3 separate regions of the Homo sapiens genome follow, and regions 2 and 3 are each linked to region 1. The links are contacts of gene promoters, found by promoter capture Hi-C in blood cells and fetal thymus (Javierre and others, 2016). All regions are on one chromosome and are shown on one strand. Each heading gives the region's core, a stretch centred on a gene start or on the middle of the fragment in contact. The rest is flanking DNA. Distances are from core to core; before and after follow the strand shown.

Evidence for each region. Contacts are between HindIII fragments. The CHiCAGO score rates a contact against its expected background, and 5 or more counts as called.
Region 2: a contact is called between a fragment that was not itself captured here and the fragment with the promoter of RILPL1 in region 1, in 1 of 17 cell types (endothelial precursors). The highest score is 5.1, in endothelial precursors.
Region 3: a contact is called between a fragment that was not itself captured here and the fragment with the promoter of RILPL1 in region 1, in 1 of 17 cell types (endothelial precursors). The highest score is 5.3, in endothelial precursors.

The regions. Positions count from the first base shown.
Region 1 is chr12:123,531,318-123,535,848 of GRCh38, forward strand. It overlaps RILPL1 (Rab interacting lysosomal protein like 1), which reads right to left and starts at 2,402. Exons shown (of 7, transcript NM_178314.5): 1 at 1,857-2,402. The coding sequence starts at 2,165. RefSeq lists an enhancer at 1,403-2,220 and silencers at 2,436-3,125, 3,145-3,330. The HindIII fragment of the contact is 17,367 bases long and covers 1-4,531 here.
Region 2 is chr12:123,297,581-123,302,111 of GRCh38, forward strand. It overlaps SBNO1 (strawberry notch homolog 1), which reads right to left. Exons shown (of 32, transcript NM_001167856.3): 31 at 398-591. Among named protein-coding and RNA genes, the nearest start is that of CDK2AP1, 28 kb to the left of the region's middle. The HindIII fragment of the contact is 3,596 bases long and covers 566-4,161 here.
Region 3 is chr12:123,333,839-123,338,369 of GRCh38, forward strand. It overlaps SBNO1 (strawberry notch homolog 1), which reads right to left. Exons shown (of 32, transcript NM_001167856.3): 6 at 2,557-2,653; 7 at 215-375. Among named protein-coding and RNA genes, the nearest start is that of MIR8072, 29 kb to the right of the region's middle. RefSeq lists a silencer at 1,477-1,526. The HindIII fragment of the contact is 695 bases long and covers 1,723-2,417 here.

The DNA of each region.
Region 1 (4,531 bases), core at 1,152-3,651:
TTCCATGTGACTTCAGACCTGGTGGCCTCCGATGGCTTCCAAGGATTTCTCCCAGCTCCCCCGCAACAGAACTAAAGAGCCCCAGTTGGGGGACAGTATAGGTGCCAGGACTTCTGTGTGATCTGGTCAAAGCCCCTTGGTCCCTGTTAATAAGAGGCGCCACACGAGAGAATTTCCAAGGTCCCTTGCCTCCTTGACCCTCTATGAGAGATGGAGGCCTCTAGGGTAGGAGTAGAGGTGCTTGGGGTGGGGACGGTTTCCTAATATGAGCCTGTGAGCACCTCAATGAATGTCTCTCCAGGCCTAAAAAGAATTTTAAGACTTGCAAAGCCCTTGCTATGGGCAGGCTCTGTCCTGAACACTTTATATGTATTTATATTAACTCTTTAAACCTCATCACATTCTAATGGGGGTACTATTACTATCCCATTTTAGAACTGAGGAAACTGAAGCACAGAGATGCTGGGTGATTTGCCCAAGATCACACAGCCTGCAAGTGGTAGGGTTTGAAACCAGGCTGTCTAGCTCCAAAGTCCTAGCTTCTAGGAGTCTTGAAATTAATTACAGGTCAAAGCATTTTCAGGCTCCCAGAGTGACCTCGGAAATGCTGCTCAACTCTTGGGAGCCTGAGTTTCCTTCCTGCCCCTAGGGCATAGGGACCCATGAGGACGAGCACAGTCAAACATGGCAATGGTGCTGTTACCTACCTGTGGGTCTGCCCTCAGGTAAAGGGTTCAGACCCAGCTTTGGCTATTTTACTCCAAAACACAGAGATCCATCAAAGTACACAATAAGGGATGGCCTGCCCCTGAGGTTCAGAGAGGCCATCTGTATTTCCTGAGGCTGAACAGCAAGCTGGAGACTGCTCAGGCACCCTGATCCCTCAAGGAAAGGTGTTTCCTCCCATTCTCAGTCTGAAGGGGCTGCCAAGAGCATCCCTGGCTGAGGTTAGGGCAGGAAACCACATGTCTTTCACTTCCTTTTCTCCAGAAACCTCGTCTGAACTCCAGGCCCAGTGGGGAGGCCCTGATTCAGAGAGACTCCTGATCACAGGGCAGAGGCTTAGCCTTAAAGCCACCCCAAATCATCCCTTTCCCCCAATTCAAACAGGGTGGGGAGGAGACACGGGGGCTGGGACTCTCTCACCACTAATTTGGGACAAATTGCTCCTCCCACTGTGACCCTCGGTTTCTTTATCTGTAAAATGAAGATAGTCTCTATAGAGTCCTGTGAGGATTAAGGATAAAATCAGAGGAGAGAACACGGGCTACCACAGGTTCATAAGCTAGGGGAGTCCCGGGAAGAAAGTTGCAAATATGAACCCGAAGACTAGGGGTCACGAAGCTCAGTGGCTGGAGGTCACATTCCCTTTGCTCTGGGGAGACTGGGGGGGGGGGGGATGAAGAAAGGGTCCTGGGCCTGATGTCACATCTTCTTGGTAACTCGGGAGGCCAAGAGGCTTATTTCATGTCTGGAAGAGAATAATATGTCTAAGCACTTAGCTTATATGGTCCCATTTAATTCTTCTAAGGTGGGTCCTATTATGATTACCATTTGACAGGTGAGGAAATAAAGCACAGAGAGGTTAAGTAACTTACCTAAAGTCACACAGCTATTAAACGGTAAAGGTGGGATTGGAACTCCAGAGAACAGCTCTTAATCTCTCGGGTGGTATCTGCCAGCCACCCCTGGTCGGGCAAAAGAAGGCCAGGGCCTCCCTCCCTCCCCACGTCGGGTCTCCTCTGGTCCGGTCCCTGAACACACACACGTGCGCACCCACAGCTGCCCAATGCGGAAGAGCCCTTGGGTCCCCGCGGTCCCACTGCCCGGACGGACAGACCGAGGCCGCCGCCCACCTTCTGGTGCTTGCGCTCCTTCTCGATGCGGTCCATCCTCTCCAGGCGCAGGCGGTCCAGCTCCAGGCGCAGCTCGTCCAGCTCGGGCGCGACGTGGTGGCGGCTGACCAGCACCTCCAGGATCTCCAGGACGCGCACGACCTTGGGCATGAGGCGCGCGATGGCCTCGCAGCCGTGCTGGTCAATGACCCGCTCGAACTCGTGGCCCACAAGCGACGCGATGTCGTACACGTCCATGACGGTCAGCTCGGCCACGTTCTTCTCCAGCGCCGACTCGGCCGCCAGCGCCGACCCCCGCTCCTCCTCCATGGCCACCCTCCTGGCCTGTCCCCCGCCCCGCAAACTCGTGCAACTCCCAAACTTGCCGCTGTCGAGGGCCGGGCCGGCCGGGCCCAGCCTGGGCCGCGGGCGGGCGCGCTCAGCGGGCGCTGGGGCGAGGGCGCAGCGGGCAGCGGGCGGCGGGCGCGGGCGCGGGCACGGGCGGCGGCGCGGGGTGTGCGGGCCCGGGGTCTGGGCGCCCGGCTCGGCCCGGAGCTGCTCCCGAGTGGGCGGCGGCGGCGGCGGCGGCGGCGGCGGCAGCGGGGAGGGCGCGCGCGTGCGCAGGCCCGCGGCGCCTCCCAAGTTGGGATCCGAGTTGCGCTCAATGGAGCCGGGCCGGGCGCCTCGGGGCGGTGCGGGCCTGAGGGGCGGCAGAGCGCGGGGCCGGAGAGGAAGGGCGGCCCGCGGCTCCTCCGGGAAACTTTGGCGGCGGCGGCTGCGAGGCCGGGTGATCGCTTCCCCACAGGGAGGCCGCGCGCCCCGCCCCAATCCCGGCCTGGCCAGGGGCGCGCCCGCTTTCCGCCGCCCGGGGGCGCCCCGGGGTACCCCCCCAAGCGCCGACTCCGCGGCCTGCACTCCGGGCCCCCCTCTCCAGCCGCCGGACCCGCGGCGCCCCTCACCCGTGCCCCGGCCGCCCCTCCCCCGCCCGGCGCTGACTCCTCCCACCACCCGGCCGCCGGGAGGGGTCCAGGCCGCCCCGGGAGAGGGGGCCGGGGGCGCTGGTCTCGCGGGACGATTCGCTGCTCCGGGTAGCGGCCCCGGCCTTGGAGAGGGATGGAGGGGTCACGAGGAGGTCCCCGGGCTGGGGCTCATCCCAGGAAGAGAACGGGGACCCCCCCCGGCCCGCAGACACTCCGCGCAGACCCGGCCACCAGGCGGACTTGCAGAGGCGCCCGGAGAGGGGCCGACGTGTCGAGGAATGCTGGATCCCCGGAGCCCCAGGGCGCGCCTCCCCGAGCCACATCCATCACTGGCTCCTTGTGACATGAACGCCACTTCACAGTAGAGCGAAGCCCGCTTGGCATTCCAGCACCACGAGTTCTCTTGTCCCAAGGCCCCCTGTCCATTTGGGCTGGCCAAATCCACTTGTCCATCAGACCCCCTCCCACTCCCGGGAGAACGTTTCCTGAACCCAGAACCCCATCCACCCTCCCCGCCCCCCACGCAGGAGTTAAGGACCCCCTTGCAAACTCACAGTCCCCTGCTTGCCCCATCAGGATTGCTCTTAGCATCCTGAGTTTTCACCGTGTGGTTGCAGGTAGGTTTCCACCGTCAGATCTTGGCTCCTTGAGGGAAGAAATCTTAATGCCCTTGTAGCCATAAAGCGCACCCCAACGTGGCACGTATTGATTAAAAATCTAAAAGTTGGCCGGGCGCGGTGGCTCACGCCTGTAATCCCAGCACTTTGGGAGACTGAGGTGGACGAGGTCAGGAGTTCAAGACCAGCCTAGCCAAGGTGGTGAAACCCCGTCTCTACTAAAAATACAAAAATTAGCCGGGCATGGTGGCGCATGCCTGTAATCCCAGCTACTCAGGAGGCTGAGGCAGAGAGTTGCTTAAACCCGGGAGGCGGAGGTTGCAGCAAGCCGAAATCGCGCCACTGCACTGCAGGCTGGGTGACAGAGCAAGACTCCATCTCAAAATAATAATATAATACAATAAATAAATAAATAAATAGTAAAAAAAAAAAAATTAAGGCCAGGCGGGGTGGCTCACGCCTGTAATCCCAGCACTTTGGGAGGCCGAGGTGGGAAAATTTCTAGAGCTCAGGAGTTCGAGACCAGCCTGGCCAACATGGTGAAACCACGCCTCTACTAAAAATACAAAAATTAGCCAGACATGGTGGCATGTGCCTGTAATCCCAGCTACTCAAGAGGCTGAGGCGCGAGAATCATTTGAGCCTGGGAGGCAGAGGTTGCAGTGAGCCAAGATCGTGCCACTGCACTCCAGCTTGGGCAACAAGAGCGAAACTCCGTCTCAAAAAAAAAAAAGAAAAAAAAAAAAGTAAAATAAAAAAATTAGCCAGACGTGGTGGTGAGAGCCTGTAGTCCCAGGTATTTGGGAGGCTGAGGTGGGAAGATCCCTTGAGCCTGGGAGGCAGAGGTTGCAGTGAGTTGAGATCACACCACTATGCTCCAAACTGGGCGACAGAGCGAAACTCTGTCTCAGAAAAATAAAAAATAAAAATAAATACTCCTGGCCACAGTGGCTCATGCTTGTAATCCTAGCACTTTGGGAGGCCAGGGCTGGAGGATCACTTGAGCCCAAGATTTCGAGACCAGCCTGGGCAGCATGGCAAAACCCCGTCTCTATTTAAAAAAAAGTCTGGTTGCAGTGACTTATGCCTGTAATCCCAG
Region 2 (4,531 bases), core at 1,114-3,613, 230 kb before region 1:
TACCCTTGCTCCCTGCAGGACACCAAGCCATTCTCTGTGCACAGTGGCTTTTGAATTCCAGAGTCTTAAGTTAGCTCAATGGAGAACTCCTGGGCAAGAGGCTGAACTGTCTACACACCAGGGAGCCTGCACAGCCACCAAGAGTAGAGAAGGAGAGCAAGAGCAGCTGAGAGCAGCATCAAAGAGATGACCACATCATAACTTCAACCAGAACCAACAATGTCTGTTTGAAGGCTTAACTTCTGTTCAACCTTGTAAGAAATATAAAACGGGTCCCATACCCACTACTGGAAGAGATGTTAGATGCATGTGGAATAAAGCTAAGATATTAGCAATGAGAAAAAAGTCGGATCCGATTTTTTCCTGCAACTCAAACCAAAACAAAAATTAGACTCACCTACAATCCGTTGCCCATCTTCCGTTCTTAGCCGCACGATCTGCATCTTCACGTTTGTGCCACTGACAGATGCTAGAACACCCTCAACTTTTGTCCAGACACTCAGCACTGAACCACATAATACATAATATGTACGGCAACGAAGACCTATTTCACAAACTAGCCCCAAGCTTGCTTTTTTGCAATTGCCGCGCCTAAGAAAAATGGGAAAGAAATACATATGAGTGTCTATATATGCACACAGACACGTTTCTAAAAGATTTACAAGGTCAACTCAAATTTCTTTTCTTTTCTTTTTTTTTTGTTGAGATGGAGTTTTGCTCTTGTTGCCCAGACTGGAGCGCAGTGGTGCGATCTCGGCTCATTGCAACCTCTGCCTCCCAGGGTCAAGTGATTCTCCTGCCTCAGCCTCCCGAGTAACTGGGACTTTTTTTTGTTGTTGTTGTTGTTTTGTATTTTTAGTAGAGACGGTGTTTTGCCATGTTGGGCAGGCTGGTCTTAAACTCCTGACCTCAGGTGATCCACCCTTGGCTTCCCAAAGGGCCGGGATTACAGGCGTGAGCCACCGCTCTTGGCCTCAAATTTCAAATAAACAATGTTTCAGCAGTATTTGCCTTTACTATTTCTTAGATTATAATTCTGTTGGCCCATTGGGTTAGCATTTCCAATTTAAGGTATCAGGCTGATTTTTAAAACCACGATTTTTTCAGGGGCCTGCCTCCCAATAAAAAGGGTTGAATTTATTGTGTTTGCTATCTGTTGAAGCATTTTAGTCATTTTAATATCCATTATTTTACTGCAATATTGCTACTTTATAAAATGATCTTGCTAGCCGGGCAGGGTGGCTCATGCCTGTAATCACAGCTCTTTGGGAGGCTGAGGAGGGAGTATTGTTCGAGTTCAGGAGTTTGAGACCAGCCTGTGCAACATGGCGAGGCTCTATCTCTACAAAAAGTTTAAAATAATTAGGTATGGTGGCTCATGCCTGTAACCCCAGCACTTTGGGAGGCTGAGGCATGCAGACAGCTTGAGACCAGGAGTTTGAGATCAGCCTGGCCAACGTGGAGAAACCTCATTTCTACTGAAAATACAAAAATTAGCCAGGTATGGGCTGGGTGCGGTGGCTCACGCCTGTAATCCCAGCACTTTGGGAGGACAAGGCCGGCTGATCACAAAGTCAGGAGACTGAGACCATCCTGGCTAACACGGTGAAACCCTGTCTCTATTAAAAATACAAAAAATTAGCCAGGAGTGGTGGCAGGCACCTGTAGTCCCAGCTACTCGGGAAGCTGAGGCAGGAGAATGGCGTGAACCCAGGAGGCGGAGCTTGCAGTGAGCCGAGATCGTGCCACTGCACTCCAGCCTGGGCAACAGAGTGAGACTCTGTCTCAAAAAAAACGAAACAAAACAAAACAAAAAACTGGCTGGGCACGATGGCTCACGCCTGTAATCTCAGCACTTTGGGAGGCCGAAGCAGGCAGATCATGAGGTCAGGAGATCCAGAGCATCCTGGCTAACATGGTGAAACCCCGTCTCTACTAAAAATACAAAAAATTTGCAGGGTGTGGTGGCGGGCACCTGTAGTCCCAGCTACTCGGGAGGCTGAGGCAGAAGAATGGCGTAAACCTCAGAGGCGGAGCTTGCAGTGAGCCAAGATCAGGCCACTACACTCTGGCATGGGCGACACAGCAAGACTCTGTCTTCAAAAAAAAAAAAAAAAAACAAAAAAGCCAAGTGTGTTGGCGCATGCCTGTAATCCCAGCTACTCAGGTGGTTGAGGCACGAGAATCGCTTGAACCTGGGAGGCAGAAGGTGCAGTGAGCCAAGATGGTGCCATTGCACTCAAGCCCTCTGTTTAAAAAAGAAAAAAGATCCTGAGAGATCCTGCCATGAAAAAACAAGCAATACCTGTGAAAAGAAAAGAAGGAGGGGGGAAGATCCTGCCAGTTATTTCTATATTATGAAACTACTGATACACTGGTTCTAAATCACATTAGTGGGAAGGACTCAGCAATCTAGAGAGATGGAAAGGGGTGGGAGGGGAGCGAGAGGCTACATGTAAATTTAAGAAGAAATGAGAAAAAGGAGAAATACCATCAATGTTTTCTGGTTAAAATTATCTTCAGAATATTCATCAATAAAGATGCCCTTCTGGTTAGTACTAACTCAAGACGAATCTAATACAGTGTTAAATGTAGGTATATAGGACACTTTTCTTGCTATAACTCAAAGCAAATGTTTGTTGTTTTTTAAGTTAATTTTTTGTAGAGATGGAGTCTTGCTGTGTTGAGGAGGTTGGTCTCAAACTCCCGGCCTCAAGCAATCCTCTCATCTTGATCTCCCAAAGTGCTAGGAGCCACTGCACTGTCCCCAGAGGAAATGTTTTAGAAAATGTTTAGGCCAGGCGCAGTGGCTCAAGCCTGTAATCCCAGCACTCTGGGAGGCAGAGGCAGGCGGATCACGAGGTCAGGAGATCAAGACCATCATGGCTAACACGGTGAAACCCCGTCTCTACTAAAAATACAAAAAATTAGCCGGGCGTGGTTGGCGGGTGCCTGTAGTCCCAGCTACTCAGGAGGCTGAGGCAGAAGAATGCCGTGAACCTGGGAGGTGGAGCTTGCAGTGAGCCGAGATCACACCACTGCACTCCAGCCTGGGTGACAGAGCGAGACTCCATCTCAAAAAAAAGAAATGTTTGTAGGGGCAAGGCGCGGTGGCTTATGCCTGTAATCCCAGCACTTTGGGAGGCCGTGGTGGGCAGATCACAAAGTCAGGAGTTCGAGACCAGCTTGGCCAACATGGTAAAACCCTGTCTCTACTAAAAATACAAAAATTAGCTGCGCATGGTGGCAGGCACTGTAGTCCTAGCTACTCGGGAGGCTGAGGCAGGAGAACTGCTTGAACCTGGGAGATGGAGGTTGCAGTGAGCTGAGATCGTGCCACTGCACTCCAGCCTGGGTGACAGAGCAAGGACACCATCTCAAAAAAAAAACAAAAAAAAACAAAAAAAAAACCCAAGTTAGTAGGTTAACTTTTAAAACTTTTTTTTTTAGACCACGTCTTGCTGTCATCCAGACAGGGGTGCAGTGCCACGATCTCAGCTCACCGCAACTTTTGCCTCACAGGCTCAAGCGATTCTCATGCCTCAGCCTCCCAAGTAGCTGGGATTACAGGCGTCTGCCACCATGCCCTGCTAATTTTTTTATTTTTAGTAGAGACGTGGTTTCACCATGTTGGCCAGGCTGGTCTTGAATTCCTGGACTCATGTGATCCATCTCGACCTCTCAAAGTGCTGGTACTACCAGCAAGCCAATGGTGCCTAGCCAGCCTACCTTTTAAAACATTTTATCTTACAGATTTTTTCTAATTTTCAGTGGCACTAATTTACTCTCATAATGAAAACCAAAAGCACTACTCACATCAAAGCCAACTTATCTACCTGCAGAACAGCCCAAACAATCAAAACAAACAAAAAGCCCCTCAAGCTAAAATTCATTTACATCTCATATTCCTTTTCATGAAGTGGGCCAGATACTGTAAGAGCATTAACTACTTAATGAGGGAGAGAACAATGAGAAGAAAACTATGATTTGCAGAGTATAAGAGTATACGAGGTCACAAAGTGAACACTGTAAGCCAAGGGGTGAGGGGGCACAGCAGGAAGAGCTCCAAGACTCAACAACAAAAGTTTGCATGTGCTGTGCTATTAACTTTGGGAATCTCCCTGGTTTCTTAGACATTCCCTAGATCTGGGACACCAGTAAAGCTTTTTTAAAAAAGAGAGGAAGAAAGAAAAGAGCCCAGCTACTCAGGAGGCTGAGATGGGAGGAGTTTGAGGCTGCAGTGAGCTATGATTGCTGCACTGTACTCCAGCCTAGGTGATATAGGGAGACTGTCTCTTTAAAATAACCAACCAAACAAAAAAACATGAAGGGAGAGTGACAGAAGGAGGGCGAAAAAGTGGTTTGTTTTTTTTTTTAAGAGACAGTTTTTGCTCTTGTTGCCCAGGCTGGAGTGCAGTGGTGCAATCTCGGCTCACCACAACCTCCGCCTCCCGGGTTCAAACAATTCTGCCTCGGCCTCCTGAATAGCTGAGATTACAGGCATGCGCCACCACACCCAGCTAATTTTTTT
Region 3 (4,531 bases), core at 820-3,319, 200 kb before region 1:
TCCAAGCAAGTTATAACATTTGCCATTTCCACTGGAAATGCACTATCTGTATCTCTGCTACACTTCTAAAATTTAATTTTCCAACACATTAAACTTTCATAAATATTACATTTACAAGGTTTTCATACAAGGAAAAGTTACCTTTAGATTGAAACAACTCTGTTATATAGAATAGGATAAAATAATTATTGTATTATGAAATATTATTGCTTACCTGGGCTGCATATGTAATTGCCTCAAGCTGCAATGCTGATAACCAGCCATTATCAATGGTTTCCTCAGAAATGGATGTTTTGTACCAAACATCAGGAGGAGTAACACTGGATAAAGAGCTGGTTTCCACTACAGCATCTGGATGACGTAGGCCAATTTTTACTAAACAAAAATGTAAAAACATTTTATTTTAATTATTCTAAGTAATAACATTTCCAGTTTCATTATAAGATATTTCAATGTTTTTCTTATAACATAGAAAAATAATTAAAAAGTATTCACTCTGAGCTTCCATAAAAAGTAACTGATGACAAAGTACTATCTATATTTGACTAAAATGATTTATCAACTACATATGGTTAAAACAGAGATTTGGGCCAGGTGGGTGGCTCACGCCTGTAATCCCAGCACTTTGGGGGGCCAAGGTGGAGGGATCACTTGAGGTCAGGCGTTCAAGACCAGCCTGGCCAACACAGCAAATCCCTGTCTCTACTAAAAATACAAAAATTAGCTGGGCATGTTGGCACGCGCCTGTAATTCCAGCTACTCAGGAGGCTGAGGAACGAGAATTGCTTGAACCCAGGAGACGGAGGTTGCAGGGAGCCGAGACTGTGCCACTGCACTCCAGCCTGAGTGATGCAGTGAGACTCTGTCTCAAAAAATAAATAAATAAAATTAAATAATAAATAAAATAAAATAGAGATTTGCTGATAAAAAAAAGATCTAAAAAAACACCACTTGGTTCATAACAGCAGGTTCTCTAGTAGTAACAGAACATAATGCCAGATTAAGGAGTTCAGTTACTTCAAGCATTCATTCAGTAAAACAAAAGTTTGCAATACAATTTTATTTTGAGGCTAGGCATGAAGGTTCATGCTTGTAATCTCAGCACTTTGGGAGGCCAAAGCAGGAGTATCATTTGAGGCCAAGAGTTCAAGACCAGCCTTGGCAATATAGTGAGACCCTCATCTCTACAATTAAAATCCAAAAATTAGCTGGGCATGGTGGTGGGACCTGTGGTCCGAGCTATTCAGGAGTCTGAGACAGGAGGATTGCTTGAGCCTTGTAGGCTAAGGCTGCAGTGAGCTAAGATTGCGCCACTGCCTGGCTGGGCATGGTGGCTCACGCCTGTAATCTCAGCAGCTGGGAGGCCAAGGTGGGTGGATCTCCTGAGGTCAGGCATTCGAGACCAGCCTGGCCAACACGGTGAAACCCCATCTCTACTAAAAATACAAAAATCAGCCAGGCATGATGGTGCACACCTGTAATCCTAGCTACTCAAGAGGCTGAAGCACGAGAATTGCTAGAATCCAGGAGGGATCCTGGGAGGTGGAGGTTGCAGTGAGGCAAGAGCATGCCACTGCACTCCAGACTGAGTAAAGAGCCAGACCCCGTCTTAAAAAGAACATATTTTACTTTGAAAAGTATTCGAAAGACAACTTGGCTATAAAATTTAACAACCAAGTCCCCAAAATGTACAACATGAATACATTAAAATAATGATCTGGAAGCTTTTTCTGTAAAGGGTCAGAGAATGATTTTGCCGTTTTAGGCCATCCTGTCTCTTGTACAACTACTTAACATTGCTGCTGTAGTGTCAACGCAGCCATAGATAATAAGTAAACCAATAAACATGTCTATGTTCCAATAAAACCTTATTTACTATAAAAAAGCGAGTGGTCCAGATTTAGTTTGCTGTCCTCTGGTTTAAAGGGCCATAAACTCTTTCAATCCTTTTGCAAAATGATTATTGGAATAAGAAAAACAGAATTTCAGATAGGACTTCTAAAATTCATTGTAGGTGAGCAGAAAAGGATGGAATCTTGAGTCTATCAGTAGTTGATAAAAAGAGAATTGTAGTTCAATTCAAATGGTATTATTAGTGGTTTTTTATAGAAACCAAGACTACATGAAAGACAAATTCTAGACATAGATTTGTTTCCTGTAATGAAAAAGTGAAAATTTTATGCAAATATTAAAAACCTAATTTTCGACTTCATACAGTGGCTGCTAAAAAAAGAACCATGTTATACAAAAGGGAGAAACAAAAACTATGGAATTCAAATAGCACAATTATTTTTATAATTTCAATGTTTTTACAATTTTAGACAAGTTGTATTAAATATCTTAGCTTTATATATCTTTACAATTACCTTTGATTTTTATAATCACTACTCCTATGAACAAAATTAAAATAAAATCCAAGCTTCTTTAGTTTTGGTTTTAAAAGACTTTGACCTAAAGCAAGATTCTAAATTTATATGGAAAAAAACAAAACAAAAAGAACCAAAGAAACCACAGGAAAACTTTGATGTAAATATCTGACAAATCCCGAAGACATACATTTTATTGGCATGTATTCTGCATAGGTTTCTGCATGACCCATTTCTTCTTCATCTTCTTCCTCTGGTTCATCATCTTCTTTTACAACAGGAACCTTCTGCAACACAGAAAGAGCACAATCAATCCCAAATCCAGGGACCAGACGCCCAGCCAACACACAGAAAAACTCTCTTGTAGGAACACCTACAAATTTCCATCATGGAAACATGACGCGCCACCTCAATACTCCCTAAAATCTGGGCCACACTTCGTGGCTTTCCTGCTTCTCCAATAATGAGCACAGACAATGAGGTCCTACTCTGTCTCTTACCCACAAATGGGTCACAAGACTCCACGTCCTTCCGGCCACCATCGTGTCAAGCTACTTTCCCCTTCAATACTGCCTATCACCCCTCCTTGATGCCCAGAACTCTCTCTGCACTCAGACTTCGCCTTCATTCTAGTTCCAGGAGAAAGAGCAAGCAGTGTGTCTGGCTCTTCCTAGTGCAAAACTGGAGTGAACCCTAGCAAAGGTGGATTGGCCCCAAAGGACCCTGCATCACCACAAGCAAGGCCTCTCAGTCTCACATTCCACCTTCTTCTCAGTTCACTTCTATTTGCCTGCTTTCCCGCATATCCTAAAACCAAAACCCCAGAAGACTGGAGTTTATTTTAGAGGCCCTTATGAAGAACAGAAAAATTTACTTCAGACTTCTGTGTCTCCACAGATGCAATCGTGATCATATATAAGATGGCCATATAATTTATTTTCCAAACCCTGGCACATTTGAGTTGGGGAGCTATTGAGGATTACACTGAGAAAACAGAAGTAAACCCAGACTGTCCTCGGCAAACCAAGTGAATGGTCACCACGGTTATGCTTCCCTTTTCTTCCTCTACAGGATCTTAAAGGAATAAAGGAAGATCCGGAATAAGCCACTTTTCACTACCAGTACAATCATTAGGCAACTGTTTATTAGCATGCACTTGTTCAGGGAAGAATATAAAGAAACTGTTGTGAAACTCAGTATGCCAAGGGAAGAGGACAACAAAAACCTACAGGTTAAGGCAAATTAAGGCAAGATCGAGACAGCATTAAAAGTGAAGGACAGGCTCTTTTTTCATTTACCTCAGAATCTAGAGCAGAATATGGTTGCAAATAGATAACAAACGTGAAAAGGAAAAGAAGTGGGACATAACCATCCAATCAACATTAACCTATGGAGTCTTTAGATAAAATCTAAAAACTTGGAATGTTCTCAGAAATTATGCTAAAATAAAACTCAATTTCGGAAATTCGAGACAAAACAGGACTGGCCAAATGAATAGATTTGAATCCCAATTCTGCTGTTATTTAATTGTGTAGTCTGTTTTTTAATTTAGGCAAATTACCTAAATTCTGGGTCCTCTCCACCCCCACCGTCTAACCCTGTCCTCGCTTATAAAATAAAAATGTATTCTATGTTAAGATAAGCAGCCTCCTTTCTCCCTCCATCCTTTATTCTCCTACCTATAGTTTTTTAAAATCATCATAAAATTGATGATAATTGAATAACTGAAGGATAAGTTGGTAATACTGAAGGACCACTATATCCAGGGAACAAACAAGTAATACCTTGAAGCCAGGTGCATGTGAGATAGCAACTGACATCAAATTTAGGTCAAAGAGATAACTCGGGTGAGGGAGACCACGGTACCTGGGAAATGTTTGCCCAACATACCATGTAGATGTTCACTACACAACGCTGGGCAAATCTTCCTAGATGGGGAACGTGGGCCTGGGGTTGTCAGGTACTCCCATTTTTCAAAATAACCGGGAAATCAGGATTTGTATATGTCAGCAAACAAATTCAAAATTCTTCAAAATACCATGAAGGCCAAACAAAATACATTTGTCAGCCAGGCATGGTGGCTCACGCCTGTAATCCCAGCACTTGGGCAAGCAGGGGTGGGCGGATCACCTGAGGTCAGGAGTTCAAGACCAGCCTGGCCAACA